7 separate regions of the Homo sapiens genome follow, and all the other regions are linked to region 2. Evidence: promoter capture Hi-C in 16 types of primary human blood cells and fetal thymus (Javierre and others, 2016). All regions are on one chromosome and are shown on one strand. Each heading gives the region's core, a stretch centred on a gene start or on the middle of the fragment in contact. The rest is flanking DNA. Distances are from core to core; before and after follow the strand shown.

What was found. Contacts are between HindIII fragments. The CHiCAGO score rates a contact against its expected background, and 5 or more counts as called.
Region 1: the fragment with the promoter of RP9 here is called in contact with the fragment with the promoter of BMPER in region 2 in 5 of 17 cell types (naive B cells, M2 macrophages, total B cells and 2 more); the score reaches 7.1 in naive B cells.
Region 3: a contact is called between a fragment that was not itself captured here and the fragment with the promoter of BMPER in region 2, in 7 of 17 cell types (naive B cells, M1 macrophages, total CD4 T cells and 4 more). The highest score is 7.5, in naive B cells.
Region 4: a fragment that was not itself captured here is called in contact with the fragment with the promoter of BMPER in region 2 in 15 of 17 cell types (naive B cells, naive CD8 T cells, naive CD4 T cells and 12 more); the score reaches 13.7 in naive B cells.
Region 5: a contact is called between a fragment that was not itself captured here and the fragment with the promoter of BMPER in region 2, in 1 of 17 cell types (M0 macrophages). The highest score is 5.2, in M0 macrophages.
Region 6: a contact is called between a fragment that was not itself captured here and the fragment with the promoter of BMPER in region 2, in 5 of 17 cell types (endothelial precursors, M1 macrophages, megakaryocytes and 2 more). The highest score is 8.1, in endothelial precursors.
Region 7: a contact is called between a fragment that was not itself captured here and the fragment with the promoter of BMPER in region 2, in 1 of 17 cell types (total CD4 T cells). The highest score is 5.2, in total CD4 T cells.

Annotation. Positions count from the first base shown.
Region 1 is chr7:33,108,038-33,110,737 of GRCh38, forward strand. It overlaps RP9 (RP9 pre-mRNA splicing factor), which reads right to left and starts at 1,367. Exons shown (of 6, transcript NM_203288.2): 1 at 1,184-1,367. The coding sequence starts at 1,335. RefSeq lists silencers at 1,023-1,252, 1,263-1,742. The HindIII fragment of the contact is 9,627 bases long and covers 1-2,700 here.
Region 2 is chr7:33,904,222-33,906,921 of GRCh38, forward strand. BMPER (BMP binding endothelial regulator) reads left to right here and starts at 1,318. Exons shown (of 15, transcript NM_001365308.1): 1 at 1,318-1,525; 2 at 2,597-2,682. The coding sequence starts at 1,393. The HindIII fragment of the contact is 6,002 bases long and covers 1-2,700 here.
Region 3 is chr7:33,206,834-33,209,533 of GRCh38, forward strand. The region is part of intron 5 of BBS9 (Bardet-Biedl syndrome 9); the gene reads left to right. Among named protein-coding and RNA genes, the nearest start is that of BBS9, 79 kb to the left of the region's middle. The HindIII fragment of the contact is 2,229 bases long and covers 291-2,519 here.
Region 4 is chr7:33,190,367-33,193,066 of GRCh38, forward strand. The region is part of intron 5 of BBS9 (Bardet-Biedl syndrome 9); the gene reads left to right. Among named protein-coding and RNA genes, the nearest start is that of BBS9, 62 kb to the left of the region's middle. The HindIII fragment of the contact is 1,545 bases long and covers 607-2,151 here.
Region 5 is chr7:33,147,160-33,149,859 of GRCh38, forward strand. All of the region lies in intron 2 of BBS9 (Bardet-Biedl syndrome 9), which reads left to right. Among named protein-coding and RNA genes, the nearest start is that of BBS9, 19 kb to the left of the region's middle. The HindIII fragment of the contact is 1,390 bases long and covers 707-2,096 here.
Region 6 is chr7:33,260,408-33,263,107 of GRCh38, forward strand. All of the region lies in intron 6 of BBS9 (Bardet-Biedl syndrome 9), which reads left to right. Among named protein-coding and RNA genes, the nearest start is that of BBS9, 130 kb to the left of the region's middle. The HindIII fragment of the contact is 884 bases long and covers 1,007-1,890 here.
Region 7 is chr7:33,170,372-33,173,071 of GRCh38, forward strand. All of the region lies in intron 4 of BBS9 (Bardet-Biedl syndrome 9), which reads left to right. Among named protein-coding and RNA genes, the nearest start is that of BBS9, 42 kb to the left of the region's middle. The HindIII fragment of the contact is 3,003 bases long and covers 1-2,700 here.

The DNA of each region.
Region 1 (2,700 bases), core at 117-2,616, 800 kb before region 2:
AGGTACTTATAACAGTAGGTTACAGTCTGTTTACACATCTACTTAGGTTACAGTTCACTAAGTACAGAGAAACTTTTAGGCTAAACTTAAAATATTCAAGGAGGCAGCGTTAGGCTATACTTAACACCTACTTAGCACAGGTAACTAGAAGTGGCTAAAACAGAAACGAATTCTTGAATAACTGAGTGAATGCCACACTTAGAAAAGGTTGTTTTATGCAGCTAATTATAGAATCACGGACAAGAACTGAAAGAGTTGCTGCCTGAACTTTCCACTCGAGGTCTGTGTTAGAATTTAGGAAACGCCACCCTGATAAATGACTGCAAAAGACAAGAATGCACCATCCCCAAACATGCCACCCTGGCATATTGATGACTTTGAGCTATAAGTAACAGAACCAAACAACACAGGATAACTTATTCAGCTACCCCTCAACTGCCTAAAATAAAGTATGACTGCTTTTTTTCCTTTTGTTCTTATTATTTTTCGACTCGCCTGTTGTAAACAGAAATTTACACCTATAAAGGAAATTTTCTGTAGTAAATGTATCTGTATCAGGAAGACAGCTGCTTGGGGGCAACTTTTATCGCCTGAGCGCCTCATCGGGATAACAAAGCAACCTTTATTCACCATACATTTCCCCCATCACCCTTCCAAAAGGTCTCCACCACGCCCCAAAAGGCCCACGCCCCTATTCCCTGGCCCTTCTTTGTCTCCCACTTTTGTGGCCCTCTAGTGCACGGGTACATAATTAAAAGTTTTTCTCCTGTTAATCTGTCTTATGACAATTTAATTTGTGGCCCAGCTTAAGAACTTAGAAGGGTAGAGGGAAACCATATTTCCTTCCCCTACATTTGAATCTTCTTTACACCACACTCTCCCGGGTCATTTGGACTCTCCTGGAACCCCCTGGAGCTAGGGAAGCGCAGGGCCTCCCAAGTCAGATTCTGCTTGGTGCCGAGCGGCAGTTGGCTCCCTGAACGCCCCGCCAGGAGGATGGACTTCAAGTCCTTGACCGCGGCGCCCGACATCGGTCGCCCGCACCAGGCTCCTGCCGGGCCCAGCCCCCCTGCCTGCTCGCGGGGGCTCGGAGGACCCGGCCTAGCGCCCACCGCGGCGTCCCGCGCCCCGGGCCCCTGGCTTCAGAAGACTGGCCGCGCGCGGACGGCAGCTCGGGACTCACAAGGACTCCAGGTGCTTGAGCTGCTGCAGCTGCTGCGCGTCGTGTCGCCGCCGCTTCTGCTCCCGACGTCGCTGCAGCTCCTGCTCCGGCGGCTCACGCGGCCGCCGCGCGCCCGCAGCCCCCACGTCCTCGCGCCCAGGCCGGGACGACATGTCAGCCCCCGCAGCGCCGCTCGGGCAACCCCCGCGGCGCGGCTCCGGCGGCGGCGGCGGCGGCGGCGGCAGCCAAGAGAGCACTTCCTCCGCGCGGCGGTCGCGGGGCTTCGCAGCGCCCCCTCCCGCCGCCGCCCCGCAACTCACCCCGGCGGCCCCGAAGTCTCAGCCTCGGCCACCCGATCCCCGCCTCCCCGCGTCGGGCCCCAAGTCAGGGGCTCCGGGTCTCGGGCCCAGCCGCCAGGCGGGCTGCTGCGGGTGGGTGGGGAGCGCCGCCTAGCTGGAGCCGAAGCGGGGCGAGGCGCTAGTTGGGAGCCTGGAGGTTCCCGCCCGGCCACACCCACCTCAGGTATACTAGCAACAGTCACATAGGGATGAGCAGATGAAATGTATTCATAAAAAAATGTTCAAATTAGCCAGGCGTGGTGGCGGGCGCCAGTAGTCCCAGCTACTTGGGTGGCTGAGGCAGGAGAATTGCTTGAACCCAGGAGGCAGAGGTTGCAGTGAGCCGAGATGGTGCCCCTGCACTCCAGTCTGGGCGAAAAAGCGAGATTGTCTCTCAGAAAAAAAAAAAAAAAAGTGTTCAAAAAGTGAAATGTATAAACATATAATTATGTTCGGTAATAGTGTGCACCCAGCTTTATAACTGCGGTCATCTGATATACCATGAGAGACAACCTAACTCTTTTGACAGGATGGGTCACCATGACGTCACCACTGTGCCAGTCACCCGAGGAGCCAAGATCCTGAGAAATTTCATCTTTCACAAATGCAGATGTACAGAAAAGACACTTATTTATTTATCGAGGAAATTTCTACATTTTTGCATATATGTAGAATGCTTACACAGTCACCATTGTAATAATGAGCTTTGATTGAGTCATATTTGCAAAAAATGCATAAAACAAATTTGAACTCTCTAAAAGTCTTTATATAGTTGATGCCTCCAGTATTAGAAATGATGTTAAGATGTAATACATAGCATAGTGAATTGTAAAACATAATGCTGACAATTTACAATAATGAAAAAGCTAAAAGAGAAAATAGAAAAACGAAAGCAAACTAAAAAGAAAATTCAACATAGAAAAAGTGTATTGCAGGGATAGATTATGGGCAATTGCATGGCGATTGTCCACATGAACTGCCCAACTTTTATGATGATTAACATATTTTGAAGTCTTGCATCATGATGAATAGCTTTTTTTTTTTTCTTTTAGGACATGGCTCTCCTCGATGATACAGTCTCATTAATTTTCTATGTGATACTGCTCTTTCCAAAATTCTTTTTAACTTTTTAAAGTTTTTTATTTTGTAGAGACGGGGTCTCGCTATGCTGCTTAGGCTGGCCTTGAACTCCTGGCCTCA
Region 2 (2,700 bases), core at 68-2,567:
CCCTTTTGAGTAGAGGGTGCCACTGCGTGGGGAGGAGGCGGCGATTCAGCAGGGGGATCACAGGAGCTGACTCCCCGACACCCAGTGCTGCAGAGGCGAGAGGGCGCAGCCGGGCTGAGAGAGCGACGGAGCTCCGAGCTGCAGAGGCCGCCGCGCGGCGGCCCCCGCCAGAGATGAGCGGTGGGGCGGGGGTTCCTCCCTCTTTTCGGGTGAATGAATGATTAGTCAAACACCACCTCCCCGCCCCGGTCCGCCCGAGATTGGAAGGGAGGAGTCTCGGAGCGACTGTTCATTTTTTAAGGACGAAAGGCGTTTGCCTCGGTACGTTTTTAAATCGACCTTGTGTGTGTTTCAACTTCGGTCATCCCTAGTGTCAGGACGCGCAGACAGCTAAGCACAGAACACATCTCTAAGGCCACTTGCCCCTCTGTCCGCTCAGCCCCCTGAGTTCGCTGTCGCGCCCCCGCCAGAGGGAAGCAAAGCAGGGCATGAAAAGTTGCGGGGGCCCTACTGCCCCGGGTGTGTCGCTCCTTCCCAAAGGTGGGGCACCCGGGAGCGAGCAGGGTGGTGGGGCGCCCCTGCGTCCCGTTTGCTGCTCCCTCGCTGGATTGGGGCACCCGGGCCTGAGCGCTAGTGCTGCGGCATCCCCGGGGCTCCCCCAAGAAAGGGAGGAGGAGCCGCGCTCGCCCGGACAGTGGAGACGCGCCTTCTCGGCTCTGGTCCGCGCCCTGGGGCCCTGGCCTCCCTGGAGGGGCTGGGGAACTGGAAGCTGGGCCGAGAGAGTTCCCGCTGCAGCTATCGCGCAGTCCCTCCTGCGCCCGGGCGCCCCCAGCGGGTTCCGGGAGGCGCCCGGTGAGCCCACGTCTGTTGCGGCGGAGCGAGCGCGCTCCGGGAGGGCCGAGAGCCGGCGGGGCTGGCAGGAGGTGAGGAGTGCGGGAGTGGAGGACGCTGCGGCAGCGACAGCGACAGCCCCCGAAACAGTAGCGGCAGCCCGGGCGGCGGCTGAGCGGCAGTGCGCAGTCGGCAGCGCCGCAGCTCCTCTCAGTCTATCTCCGGCTGCCGCAACACCCCTTCCTCCTGGCCCCCTCTCCGGCGCTGAGGGGCTGACTGCTAAGCCACTGCAAGCAACTCCCTCAGGAAAAAAAAAAAAAAAGCCGCATCGGAGGAGCCTGGCCGCAGGACCCCTCCTCCCCGGGCGCCCCCACACCTTGGTCTCTCCCCCCGCCCTCCCTCACACCCCCCCGCCCCCCAGCTCTCGGGCGCCCGCCTCCCTCCTTCGCGGACGGTCTCCCGACACGCCGGCTGAGAGCCCTTTTCGACTGTGAGCTGCGGCAGCTGAGCAGAGGCGGCGGCGCGGGACCTGCAGTCGCCAGGGATTCCCTCCAGGTGACGATGCTCTGGTTCTCCGGCGTCGGGGCTCTGGCTGAGCGTTACTGCCGCCGCTCGCCTGGGATTACGTGCTGCGTCTTGCTGCTACTCAATTGCTCGGGGGTCCCCATGTCTCTGGCTTCCTCCTTCTTGACAGGTAGGGGAGGGGGCGGGAGGGACCGGCCCTCCGGGACGCCGGTTTGGTACCTGGGAAAGGTGGCGCTGGCTTGCCCCGGGGATGGGAGGGTGGGGAGCGCGCACCTTGGCGCTTGCCCTGCGCTGGTCGATGGGGATGAAGCGAAGCCCCGGGAGGGCTGGGAAGGCTGGTGAAGAGGTTGCGGGCTGAGAGGCTGTTGCCTTCAATGTAGTAATAATAGACATTCTTCTATTTGAATTTGAGAAATTATTTTATTTATTTTTAATGCTTTCCTCAACTTTTATTTTAATCTTTCCCTCTGTAGAACTCAGGAAAAAAATTTGTGCAGTTTTCCGCACATCTTCCTTTCTCATCTTTGGGGTTGCAATACATCCACTGTGCTAGGAGTGCTTTTTAAAGCACTGGCTCTCAAGACCTTGAATTTAAAGAAACTATCATTTAAAAAGGGCACTAATAGCCGGATATAATAATTATATGTTTTCAGGCAGGTGAAGACCTCAGCTGCTATTCTGAAGGACATACTTTACTGACACCTGGTGCAGAAAAGAAAATATGGAGTCAATTTCTAAGAGAAGGGAAAAGGGGATTGCGTTTCAAAAAGTGATTTAAACCTAAGACAATGCGAGACAGATTCATAGAAAGGCCTGTTTATTGACTCAGTTCTGAGTTTTGGTCAATTTAAAATCTGCCCCAATTTGAGGGTTTTTTTAAATTTTATTTTTTATTTTTTTCTTTGCGTATGGGGCTGTGTGCTTAGTTGAAATATCTTCATAAAGGAGGAGTGTTATTAAAAATCCAGTGAAATACTTGGAATTGTGCTTAGACCATCTGAGAACAGATAATTTATCCCTATATCATAGTCTTTTCTTTTTTGAACCTGTTTAAATAAAATTATTGAAAATGGAGTTGGGGGCAGAGGTTTTGCTTTGGTGAATTTAATAATTTAAACCACATTAAGAATTCTGAAGTTTGGGTAGAGGTTTCAAAAAGGATTAGTGTAAAAATTTTAAATGTTGAAATCATGCTGCTAAGCTAACTTTAAATGAAACATTTTTCCCCCCTGAATTTCAGGTTCTGTTGCAAAATGTGAAAATGAAGGTGAAGTCCTCCAGATTCCATTTATCACAGACAACCCTTGCATAATGTGTGTCTGCTTGGTAAGTGTGGAGATCAGG
Region 3 (2,700 bases), core at 155-2,654, 700 kb before region 2:
GAATCTAGGCTAGGGATAGGCATTGCATTAAATTATCATGTCTTTTAGCCTCTTTTAATTTGGAAAATTTCCTCCAATTTTCTTTGTCTTTTATGACATTGACATTTTTGAAGAATATAGTCTCCCATACCATTAAATTTTTTTTCTCATTTTGTCTCTTACTTCCCTGTGATTAAATCAAGATTATACATTGTTGTCCAAAATCCTGTCAAGAATAGGTGATATTGCATTCTTCCTATATTATCACATAGAAGCATCCTCATTAATGATTAATTTTGATCTTCTGGTTAAGCTTGTTACCTGAATTCTCCACTGTGTAATTACTAATTACTGGTGTTTTATGCCTTGCAACTAATAAGGAAATGTAAATATTTTGCTTTTCATCAACATTCCCCCTTGAATTGATAACCCATTAGCAATTCTTGCCTGCAATAATCTTTACTGTGGTAGTTGCAAAATGATGATTTCCAAATTGGCACTTCCTTCACATTTGTCAGTTGGTTCTCAATCTTCTACTGTAAGCAGTAGATCTTTCTTCTCCCCTATTTATTTGTCTGCTTATTATGTGGATTCATGAATTTCAATTTTTTTCTGTTAGTTTTAATTCAATACTGAACCTAATAATTTTGATGCTTAAATTGTCCCAGATTTGGCCAGTGGGAGCCTCTTTAAGCTGGCTCCTGTGTCCTTGTGACATGTCTTCTTTTTTTTTTTTTTGTTAGCATTTCTTTACTTTCTAGCATAGTAAGATGTTCCAGGCTAATCTGATACCTATCCTGCTGCAGCCATCTATATAGTATTAGAGACCAAGATATAGATGCTAGGTGTGATCCTGTTACTATGGTATCTTTACTTTTAGCCCCTTTCAGGGACAGTGCTAGAAAATATGTGCATGTATATACATATATACATATCTGTACATAAACATATACATATATGCACATGTGCACATAAATGTGTACACTTACATATAGATATAACTTTTTTTTTTTGAGATAGAGTCTTGTGCTGTCACCCAGGCTGGAGTGCAATGGCGTGATCTCTGCTCACTGAAACCTCTACCTCCTGGGTTCAAGCGATTCTCCTGCCTCAGCCTCCTGGGTAGCTGGGATTATAGGTGTGCGCCACCATGCCTGGCTTATTTTTTGTATTTTTAGTAGAGATGGGGTTTCACCATGTTGGCCAGGCTGGTCTTGAACTCCTGACCTCAGGTGATCCACCCGCCTTGGCCTCCCAAAGTGCTGGGATTACAGTTGTGAGCCACCATGCCCAGCCCATAGAAATAACTTAAAAGTCATGCATTCCTACCATTATATCCAACTTCAGTTCATTCCTACATAATTCTTTTTTGCCATCCCCTATTCAGTATTTATATGTTTCTTCTAAGTGAATATCTGGCTCTCAACATCAAGCCACATATTCATTTGCTCATGTCTATAATACATCTAAAGTAGCTGCAGAATTGATTTTGACCATTTCCCTATGATAAACAAACCTCTGTCTCTGTTTTCTTTTTCTAGCAAATTCCTCTAAGTATTCGTGTTCCCAGAGGCTGCTACTTCCAGTGCTGCACCCTTTCAAATTCCTTCTCTGTAGCCAGAGCTTTGAACTTGTAGATCCAACCCATGTTGAGAATTTTTGCATTTATTGTTTCACCTTTTCCTTCTGGGGTGGTTGGGTCTGTGCCTTCCATAAGTCCTTTGCTTTCTTCTGTTCTTTTTCACAGAATCTTATAAGCCTTTCTTTCCTCACTTTCAATACCCTGAAGTTTGTGGTAGTAGCAGTGGGCTGATGGTAGAAGTGCCATGGAATTTGTTTCTTTTTTCTTCTACATATGGTGAAGGCAGCAAATGTTCTTTCTCCTAGTAATGCAGAAAGTATGGATTCAGTGTGGTTTTATGTTTTTTCTAGGAGGGTAGGGGGAAGTGGGTGACCACTATTATTTTCTGAATTCAGGAAAATTCTGTTTTTTTTTTTAATTTTTAATTTTTGTGGGCACATAGTAGGATATATATTTATGGGGTACATGAGATATTTTGATATATGCATACAATGCATAATCACATCAGGGTAAATGGAGTATCCTCACCTCAAGCATTTATCCTTTGTATTACAAACGATCCAATTAGACTCTTTTAGTTATTTAAAAATGTACAATTAAATTATTACTGACTATAGTCATCCTATTATGCTATCAAATATTAGATCTTATTTATTCTTTCTATTTTTTTGTACATTTAGCCATTTCTACCTCCCCATCCCCCAACTACCCTTCTCAGACTTTGGTAATCATCTTTCTTTATCTCCGTGAGTTTAATTGTTTTAATTTTTAGCCTCCACAAATAAGTGAGAACATGTGAAGTTTGTCTTTCTGTGACTGGCTTATTTCACCTAACATAATGACCTTCAGTTACATTCATGTTGTTGCAAATGACAGGATCTCATTCTTTTTATGGCTGAATAGTATTCCATTGTATATATGTAACCACATTTTCTTTATCCATTTGTCTGTTGATGGAAGCTTAGGTTGCTTCTAAATCTTGGCTATTGTGAACAGTGCTGCAAGAAACATAGGAGTGCAGATATCTCTTTGATATACTGATTTTCGTTCTTTTGGGTGTGTAACTGGGAGTGGGATTGCTGGGTCATATGGTAGCTCTATTTTTGATTTTTTGTGGAACTTCCTCACTGTTCTTCACA
Region 4 (2,700 bases), core at 129-2,628, 710 kb before region 2:
TGTTACCGTCAAAAATCCAAACCTCCCATTTCCTGCAGAGGCCATAATTCTGCTTTTTCATGTGGATTTAGATGTACTTTTGTTTTCTTTCCAACCTTGTCTTTGGTAAAACTGAAGACTCCCTTGGTTGCAACTAACAGTTGGCTTAAGCAAGAATAGGAAGTTGACTGGCTAACGTCACTTGAGCCTTCTCTGTGATCAGATCTGGTTTCTCTCTTTTCATCTCTTGCTTCCATTTCCTGGGATAGGCTATTTCCTTCTGGTTACATGATGGCTATAGCAGCTTTAAATCTTTACTTGTCACATTCTAGTCCATGTAAAAGAGGTTCTTCCTTTCTCGTAGAAGGCTCAACAAAAGTCTGTTTCCAACTCACAGGCTCTGGTTGGGCCATCTCTGAACCAATCATTGCCACCAAAGGAATGTGATTAACTTGAGCCTGAGCCACAGGTGTGGGAAGTCCTCTTACCACTAAGGGTAAGAGTGGAGAGGGAAGAGGGGTGGATTTCCAGAGGAATATCAGTGAATAATTAACTGTGGTGAATCTGAGGACTTTGGAGGTGATCAAGAAAAAAGACATGGCTATCAGATGGCAGTAGAACACAATAAGCTTTATTTGCGTGGTGCTTTGGCAGGATTGCATTCAAGAGGAGGTCCCTTACAGCAAGAGACCTTCCAGAGAGAGTGAGGTGGCCTCAACCCAGAAGGGGCAGAGGTCAGGGGAGCTTTCTGGGGAGAGAGGACCTAGAGTGGGGCTTAGGTGTCCAGGTTGCTGAGAAGCAGGACTGGGGAGGGCAGCAGCAACATACAGTCTTTTACATGCTCAGGGTTTGTTTTACCTGTAGCTAGTGGATGTTGGGTGCAGTTTTTCAGGGTATGCAAAACAGGCTGAAAATATCCTTATTTGGGCTATGTTTAAAGCAATTGATATAAAAATTTGAATTTGGTATCCGTGAGCTTTGAGTTAATGGTCAGTCTGAATGAAGAAGTAAACAACATGGGGTCAATATATAAAGGGGTCACCTTTAACCTGGTTCTGTAGCATTAATGAAAGAGAGTGAAATAGGTGCTGGGTGGCCAAAAAACTGTAAATATCCACCTTGCTTTTGGTTTCACTTTCTCTCCTAGGACCTCCCTGTGGTACTACCTTAGAACTGACAGGAGAGGCCAGCAGTGGTGATTTGAGAGTGTGCCCTCAGGTGTGTATATGAATTGGAGAAGGCAGGGCCTAAGCAGTTAAAGGATATGCTCTGTCCTGGGCTGAATGCAGCCTCATTCTGGTACAGTGTGTGGGGATAATTGCTTGAAATGTTTGTGTGTATTTTGAGGATTTGTTGTAATTGAATTTAATTGAGTGCTTTGCAAAATCATTTGTCATGATTTTAGGCTTGGTATGCATAGATATTTAAATTCGGGGGCATGTCTCAAATTATTTACAGAAGAGATTGAAACTTGAAATAATGTAAGTTATGATTTTTACTTTATCTTTTCCTCACTTTCAGTATTCTTCACATGAGGATGTATATACTTTTGTTATAAAAGTAGTCTTGTTCACAGAGGCATATTTAAAACATATGTACCGGTAAAAAAAAAAAAAGTAAATGATTAAGCACCACCTCCCAAACGCAACCACTGAAAACATATATGTGGACAGTAGAATATAATCCAGAATGTTTCAACTTGAGCTAACCCAGAGTAATTTTAGAGTAATTTTACAGTTTCTGGAATTTAGTCATCTTACCACCTAAAGGGCCCAACCAGTGAAAAGCATGTTTATCATGTCAAGTCTGGTGCTGTATAATGGAATGCAAGCAAGTTATGACAATAAATGTTAAATGGAAAAGCCTTTACTTTATATGCATATATCTTGAAGTCAGTTGAGTAATTTATTCAATATTGGTGTTTATTTTGTATTAAAATATATGAATTTACTAGAAGACAGAAAAAAATCTGCGTGATTTGGGTCAAGCTGCAAATAGGAAAAGTGGCATATTATAAGATATTCCTAAATATTTAGTGATGATACATTTCACCTGCAATTCGTGCACTTGAAATCAAAACTTGTCTTTCCTTTAAGATGGCAAAAATATATAGAATAATATAAAAACTGTGCACATTTTATATTTGGGGAAAGACCTCTTGAACTGCACATAAGCTTCTGCTTATTCTTTCTAACTTGCTTTTCAGGTTACTTTTTCAGTCTATATACTTGGAATAATGCTCTTAAATGACTTTCGTTACATTAAACCTGAGATTTCCTGACACGTAGTAGTGTCCTAGTCCATTTGTGTTGCTATACCAAAACACCTGAGACTGGGTAATTTATAAAGAACAGACATTTATTTCTCACAGGTCTGGAGGCTGGGAAGTCCAAAATCAAGGTGCCAGCAGGTTCAGTGTGCAGCTAGGGCCTGTTCCTCATAGATGGCACCACCTTGGTGTCCTCACATGGCAGAAGAACAGAGGAGCAGAAGAGCAAAGGGCCTAAGCTACTTCCCTCCATTCTTTCACAAGGCACTAATCCATTCGTGAGGGTGAAGCTCTCATTACTTAATCACTTCCCAAAAGGCCACACCTCTTAATACCACTACAATGGGAATTAATTTTCAACACAGGAATTTTGGATGACGTTCAGACCATAGCAAGTAGTCTCTTACAGTCATTTTAGATCTATCCCTTTTACATCCTATCCATATTATGTG
Region 5 (2,700 bases), core at 152-2,651, 760 kb before region 2:
TGCATCTTCATGTTTTTTAAGTGACCTTTCAAACAGTTTAATTCTGTATTATTGTATCATTGCTATTTGAAATTTGTATTTGGTTTATAGTCATGGGCTTTTTTTTTGTGATCTAGTCATTACCCTCTTAAAAAGAAAACTTATTATAACTATTCTTTTGTTTACTGCATATAAATATTATCCCCTTACATTTTTTAAAAATTGTTTTTCTTGCCTATAATTAAAACAGTGGGATCTGCAGGAAAATGTGAAAGGAGAAAATTGTATTGGTAAAGCAGAAGAGTGGGAGTACTAAACTGCACAGAGCACCTACTAAGTTGTTTTGAAGGAAAATTTGGTCCCTGATTTTCCACTGATAGGAGATGGGAAGGCCTTCTATTCAGAGGATATTGGAAGGTTCCTCAACCCTGCCTCTGCCCCCGCTATTTGTTAAAGCATGTGATGCCCCAGTTATTTGGCCATGTAAGAGTCATGCCACAGAAATACCTGCCAGAGAGAACAATTTCAAACCCACTTCTGCCTAAACTATCTAAAGTTCAGCTTGGTTGGAAACTATACTTACTGATTATCTGAATAACATACTGTACACTCATTCATTTCTATTAGAGCTCACTACTGGGGTGCTACCAGTAGGTTACGAATATGCTGAGATACTGCTTCCCTCACAGTTTGTGGTGAGCTGTGAGCAGCTTCCTCTGTTTTCCGAAGCTTGCTATACAAAAATCATTACATATGTGTGTTCCACATAGACAACACTCATCATTGTGTTCCAAAGCCTGTGTCATAATATTGTGGGGTGATTATTATATATGGAGATTTTCTATCCCAGACACATGAGATGCTATAAGATTGTATTCTCCAGGGGTAGGTGGGGTGATGTGACTTAGGTTTCCTAATTTTTGATAAGTTCCAAAATTGAATGCTGGCATTCTCAAGTTTGAGAATTATTTTTGTTGATCTTATAGAATGGAAAGTTAACAAGAGCAGTTTTGGATATGCTCTGTTTAAGATAGGAATGTCTAGTTTACAGAATAGAGGTAGAGATTTGGGGATGAACAATATGGTGTTTATATTTGGAGCTCTGAGAACAGGTGAAAATGCACAGGGAGAGAAGTTGAAATAAGAGGGGAGGAGGTATAGGACTGTAACCTGGAGAATATGAGGATCAACAGGGGAAGTGTGGGAAGAGTAGTAGATTCTGAAAAGAGCAGGCAGAGAGGCAGGAAAACTAATTAGGCTGGTAACTGGGAAGCAGTGCAGTGGTGTGATCTTGGCTCACTGCAACCTCCACCTCCCGGGTTCAAGCAATTCTCCTGCCTTAGCCTCCCAAGTAGCTGGGATTACAGGTGCCTGCCACCACACCCAGCTAATTTTTGTATTTTTAGTAGAGACAGGGTTTTGCCATGTTGGCCAGGCTGGTCGCGAACTCCTGACCTTGGGTGATCCACCTGCCTCGGCCTCACAAAGTGCTGGGATTACAGGCATGAGCCACTGCACCTGGCCTTTTTTTTTTTTTTTTTAATGGAGACAGGTCTTGCTCTGCTGCCCAGGATGGAGTGCAGTGGCATGATCATGGCTCACTGCAGCCTCAACCTCCCAGGTGTGCCCCACCATGCCTGGCTAATTTTTATTTTTATTTTTTTTGTACAGACAGTGTCTCCTTGTGTTGCCCAGGCTGGTCTTGAACTTCCTGGGCTCAAGTGATCCTCCTGCCTTGGCCTCCCAAAGTGCTGGGATTATTGGCGTGAGCCACTGAGCCTGGCCTAAAAGTTTTCATGCTCTTTAGCAGCAAGTGGTTCATTAGTGTCCATGACAAGAGTGGATGTGTGGGCACAATGGTAATGAGATCTAGATTTGCAATGTATGAATGGGGAGTGAGTGGGAGGTGGGGAGACTATTTATGGCTCTTTAAAGAAACTTAGCTGTGAATTGAAGAAGGGAGGATGATGATTTGGAGACCATGGAGGGTCAAGGGAAGTGGGAAAAATTCAATGTGTAGAATAGAGGCTTTCATTGATGGAGCAGGGACCCAGAGAGGACAGTCAGAGATGGGATCAGGTGTGCAGATGGAAGGATTAACCTTGGACAGATGTGGAAGCTTTTTTCCACAGTGCCAGAGGAAAGAAGGTAAGAATGTATACCGATGTAGAGAAATTTGCAGGTCAAGTTGGGAGGTTGAAACAGTAATGTCAGTTGACCTCTACTTTTTTTTAGGTGATCAGACAGTGAGAGAAGAGTTACAGGGATCCTGAAATTCTTTAGAAGAAGCCGAGTAAAACACAGAAGGATTCCTTGTTAATCTTGATAGTACAATTGAAATTGAACACCCCATGCATTTAAATGGCACTTACTTTCCTAATTCTCTCAACTCAAGATTCAGACTCTTGAGAGAGATAGTGAGAATGAGGGAGAGAGAGAGGATCTGAATAATACAATTTAGATTACATGCCAACCTGTGGCCTGGAGGGAAAGTTTATTTCTAGAATTGGAGTAGAGAGCAAATAAGACTGACTAATGGCTTTTCATTTAATGCCTGCATGTTCATTAATTCCTGGGGAATCCCATATTTAATTGTAGCTTGAAATCTGTGAGAGTCAGACTTATCTGAGATCTGGTTACTATACTAGTCCTGCAAAGTATTTTAATAGTCGTACATATACATTTTGTTTCAGTGGGTTAGCTTGTTACCATGTGGACTTG
Region 6 (2,700 bases), core at 199-2,698, 640 kb before region 2:
AACTGTCTTCCTTTTTTCACCTCCTAGATATATTACTGCCTAAAACACTGATTTTTGGCTAATGTCATGTATTGCCTTCTTGTACTGACATTTTCCAGAGTATCTTGCATTATCAGGTTCTTGAGAGAAGAATCTGTGTTAAACATCTCTTCACTGACTGAATAATTCAGTTTGTTTATTCAGTCATTCATTCAGCAAATATTTTTCAACAGGCTTGTGTGCCATACACTGTGCAAGGTACTGGAAATGTAGTCAAATAGACGTGCCTCTTATCCTCAAATAGTATTCAAGGAGGCAGGAAGTCAGTCAGCTACTTCAGTCCATTTGTCATACAGGCTATAGCAGAGCTTTGCATAGGATGCTGAGGAGGCCTCGAGGTGGGACCTCTAAGAGTTGAATGTAGGGAGGCTCCCTAAAAGAGTATACCTGCCATGGGTGTTATTTCTCTCCTTCTGTCTGCTATACCCCTTCCCCAGCAACCCCTCAATAGCTCCTAATACATCACTAAGTAAATAATCAGCCTTAAATAAATATTTAAAAGTGTTTCTGTTGAATTTAATTGACTGTTTTAAAAAGAAGTATTCTTCTCCAATCTTTGGCTCTGACCAAATGGAAATATTTGTAGTCTCCATATATGTTAAGGGTTTTTCTCTCTCTCCTTTTTTTTTTTTCCCACATACTGTCTATCTCCTATGTCTGAAGTGCTTTTCCTTCTTTCTCTGCACGTGGAAATTATGTCTAGAAGCCTCCCTGCTCCCCTTCAGTTCTTCCCTGACCTAGATGTAACCAACATCTCCTTTTTCTCAATTTACATAGTAGTTTTTCAGTGCTTCCCTTAGGTATTACTTATGCTTTCACTGATAGTAAACATTTGTTTTTCTCCTTGACTAAGCTCAGTGCTCCTCGATGGCAGGAATTCTGTATCCCCTGAAGTGCCCAGCACTGTACCTTGGTGAAAGTGGGTGTTCAATGAGAACTGATAAAAGAGTGAAAAGTGTATAAAGAAAGCTTCTGTTTTGTTACTGGCATCTTTCAATGAAAAGGATTCTCCCCGGCATAGTCAAGAATGTTTTAGCTATAGTTGAAATCAACATAATAATGCTCTGTGTCTCGAGCTTCCATTTCTAGTAAAGTTCTCTGGGTTACATATCAAGGTTCCAAAACTTCCTGCCACTCACTGAGGTGACAGTTCTGTTTATTTTGAAAATAAATGATTTTGGAGGGTTTACTTTTGTGCTCTGTGATGCCTCAATCTATATTTTAGTTACCTGCTACTGTTTTTACAAAGCAATTTGGAAGAGTATTAAATTATGTGGTTGAGTTTGTTATTGGTGCACTACAGGACCTGTGAAGCATTTGTGGTTAGTGAGTCAAAAAGCACCACCGTTTAGCTGCACTTGGTGTAGTTGCGATTAGTGCCTTTCTGTTCTGAGAGACATGTATGGCACTCTTTCATAAGATCTTGTTACATTGGCCCTGATTATTCTTTCAGCAATCTCGACAAGGGAACTTTTTTGTGTAGCTTATGTTACTGAACACTTGAGTGGTAAGAAAAAAGATCCAAATATTTTATTTCAGAATTTCCAAATCTGCTTGGAATTGTTTGGTTTTAGAAATAGATTTTTACATACTTTATTGGTCACAGTTAAGAGGAATTAAGGAAGAACCATAAAATAGATGCTCTTGTAAGTTTGTCATCATCTAATTTTACTGTCAAGTTTAAGTAATAAAATACTCTTCTGAGTTGTCTTTTAGGAAGAGAAATGGTTTGGATTTGGAAATCAGTAGTCAATTTTGGCTGTGCCTCTGCCTGCTGTTTTAATGTTAATAAGGCCGCTTTAGGGGCTCACTTATTTCTTAGATAAAATAATGACCATAGTTATATATATAAGCTTCAAACAGCTCAAAGAGTTTTGGACCTTTGTAACAATCTCATGAATATCTATATTATCCCTTGGCAGGTTGGTTTCTGTAGGAAATGAACCACCTATGTAACTAATTGCCTAGGGTTAGATCCATAGCAGGACAAGCTTTGGGATGATGTTCTAGTCACCAGCGCATACTATTTCTGTTGCTATGAATTGGGAATAGGAAAACAATCCTATTTGGAGTTCAGAATGTGAGGTCTAATTATTTTGCACTTTTAGAGACTTTGGGATTTTGAAGGTCAATCTCAGATGGTATAGAGAGATTGGCTGCAGCTGACCGTGGGATTTTGTAGCATGGTCTTACAAGGCTGAGATCTTCTCCCTCTTACTTCATGCGCCCCATGACTCATTCCTCCCTGTCATGCATCTCTCCTAAACTCCTGTCATGGCCTTTCATGTCTCTTTTACTGCTGCATGCCTTTGCATTTGTTATTTGATTTGCCATAATGCCTTCTCCTTCTTTACCAGCGTGATAGAATTTTCACTCATCCTTTAAAACCTAGCTTTCTCTTCCTGAACCTATACCAAGAGCATATCTTTTCTCCCCCAATTACTTGTTACTATTGGTACTACGTGCATACCTTCTGTTAATTAGCACAGGATACTCTGAGTTATACTTAGCTGTCTGTATATGAGTCTCTACAACTAGTGTGGGAGCACCTTATGAGTATAGATTATGTAGTAGTTTTTCCATTGTTAATGTTTGTATTGGATCCCTACTATATGTTTATAAAATGAATGAAATTTATATATATTACGTTTTCATATTAAT
Region 7 (2,700 bases), core at 122-2,621, 730 kb before region 2:
TGCAGAAAAGGCCTTTGACAAAATTCAACAACCCTTCATGCTAAAAACTCTCAATAAATTAGGTATTGATGGGATGTATTTCAAAATAATAAGAGCTATCTATGACAAACCCACAGCCAATATCATACTGAATGGGCAAAAACTGGAAGCATTCCCTTTGAAAACTGGCACAAGACAGGGATGCCCTCTCTCACCACTCCTATTCAGCATAGTGTTGGAAGTTCTGGCCAGGGCAATTAGGCAGGAGAAGGAAATAAAGGGTATTCAATTAGGAAAAAAGGAAGTCAAATTGTCCCTGTTTGCGGATGACATGATTGTATATCTAGAAAACCCCATTGTCTCAGCCCAAAATCTCCTTAAGCTGATAAGCAACTTCAGCAAAGTCTCAGGATACAAAATCAATGTACAAAAATCACAAGCATTCTTATACACCAACAACAGACAAACAGAGAGCCAAATCATGAGTGAACTGCCATTCACAATTGCTTCAAAGAGATTAAAATACCTAGGAATCCAACTTACAAGGGATGTGAAGGACCTCTTCAAGGAGAACTACAAACCACTGCTCAAGGAAATAAAAGAGGATACAAACAAATGGAAGAACATTCCATGCTCATGGGTAGGAAGAATCAATATCATGAAAATGGCCATACTGCCCAAGGTAATTTACAGATTCAATGCCATCCCCATCAAGCTACCAATGCCTTTCTTCACAGAACTGGAAAAAACTACTTTAAAGTTCATATGGAATGAAAAAAGAGCCCGCATCGCCAAGTCAATCCCAAGCCAGAAGAACAAAGCTGGAGGCATCACACTACCTGACTTCAAACTATACTACAAGGCTACAGTAACCAAAACAGCATGGTACTGGTACCAAAACAGAGATATAGATCAATGGAACAGAACAGAGCCCTCAGAAATAACGCCGCATATCTACAACTATCTGATCTTTGACAAACCTGAGAAAAACAAGCAGTGGGGAAAGGATTCCCTATTTAATAAATGGTGCTGGGAAAACTGGCTAGCCATATGTAGAAAGCTGAAACATATCTTGCTTTTGTTTATACACTATGTATACAAAATTGTTTCATCTCTAGTAGCTTTAATTACATATATCAACTAAAATTTTAACTCTTAGTAACCTTAATTTCTGATTAAAACCCTAGAAAATAATTTCGAACTAATTTTATATCAGTATTTGTGATAAAAACTATTTTTTTAAGTTTTTAGAAAGATTTTTCTTCAAATTATTGTTTTTTAACAGACCTAAATATATGTAGCTTTTCTGTATCATATAAAAATAACATCAACGTATACAGACAAACTCATGTTTAATAATTAATGTTTCAATATTTTAACTTATAAATGACTCAGACATTTTATGATTATTATTTAATTTAATATAACATGACCTGAAGATTTTAAATTACTGAAAATAATTTTGAAAATATGACACAGGTACCCTCCTTAATGTCTTCCCTTAGTCATTCTGGGTGCCAAGTAGCCTCATGGTACCCAGGAGGCTTATGAAGGTCAAGGCCTCTCTGAGTCCTGACATACCAGGTGCAATGGTCAGGATAGAAGACAGGGCTGTGAAGACTATATCTGGAGGATTCAACCCCTCCCCAAATAGCCAGTAGGCAAGCAGGAAAGCAGGGGAGAAGGGAGCATATTGGGCTTGGTTCTGGCTTGTAGCTGATGGTCTAGGCACTAAGAACATGCCTCTAGGCCGGGTGTGGTGGCTCACACCTGTAATCCCAGCACTTTGGGAGGCCGAGGTGGGCCGATCATGAAGTCAGGAGATTGAGATCATCCTGGCTAACACCGTGAAACCCCATCTCTACTAAAAAATACAAAAAATTAGCTGGACATGGTGGCGGGCGCCTGTAGTCCCAGCTACTCGGGAGGCTGAGGCAGGAGAATGGCATTAACCCAGGCGGTGGAGCTTGCAGTGAGCCAAGATCGTGCCACTGCACTCCAGCCTGGGTGACAGAGCGAGACTCTGTCTCAAAAAAAAAATAATAAAAAAAAAAAATGAAAAGAACACGACTCTAGACCTCGTCATGTCCACCTATGCAGACCCCCAAATCCAGAGGCTCTAAACCAAAAACAGCTCACAGTCAATCAAGCAAATATCTTGTTATATTTAACTGATAATTTTGAAGCTATTCCTATTTTAGCAACAATTTTAGAATTTGCTTTATTTACCAAATATTATCACAGACACATAACACACATGGACATGAAAGATTTTCATTTGCTAGCTTTTAAATAGTTTTCCTTTTCCCTATTTGGTCTATTAATCTTCCAGTTACTTGTTTCATTGCCCTAAGCAATTGTTAACCAGGCAACAAATTTGCATTTCTAAAATAACTCTTAGGTACAACAACAAAAAATTATATTCCATATGTACATAGCTAAGATTTTAGGCCTAAATATTGTATCATCATTTGTCTCAAACCAAGGAAAAAATGGTGCTCCCATAAAAGTTCAGTTAAGACAACATGGCCAGAAAGGCACCTTAATCAAAGGTGTGACTTATGCCAATTTAAAACAATGGGAAGAGTTTCTAATATACACAGGCAGACATCCTTAAAAATGGTGATTTCCTTAATAGATGTAAATTTCTTTTGCAGAAGGGTTTCAAGATAGCCAATGAAATTCCAGAAAGGCATATTTTAGTTCAATAGGTGTTCTTAA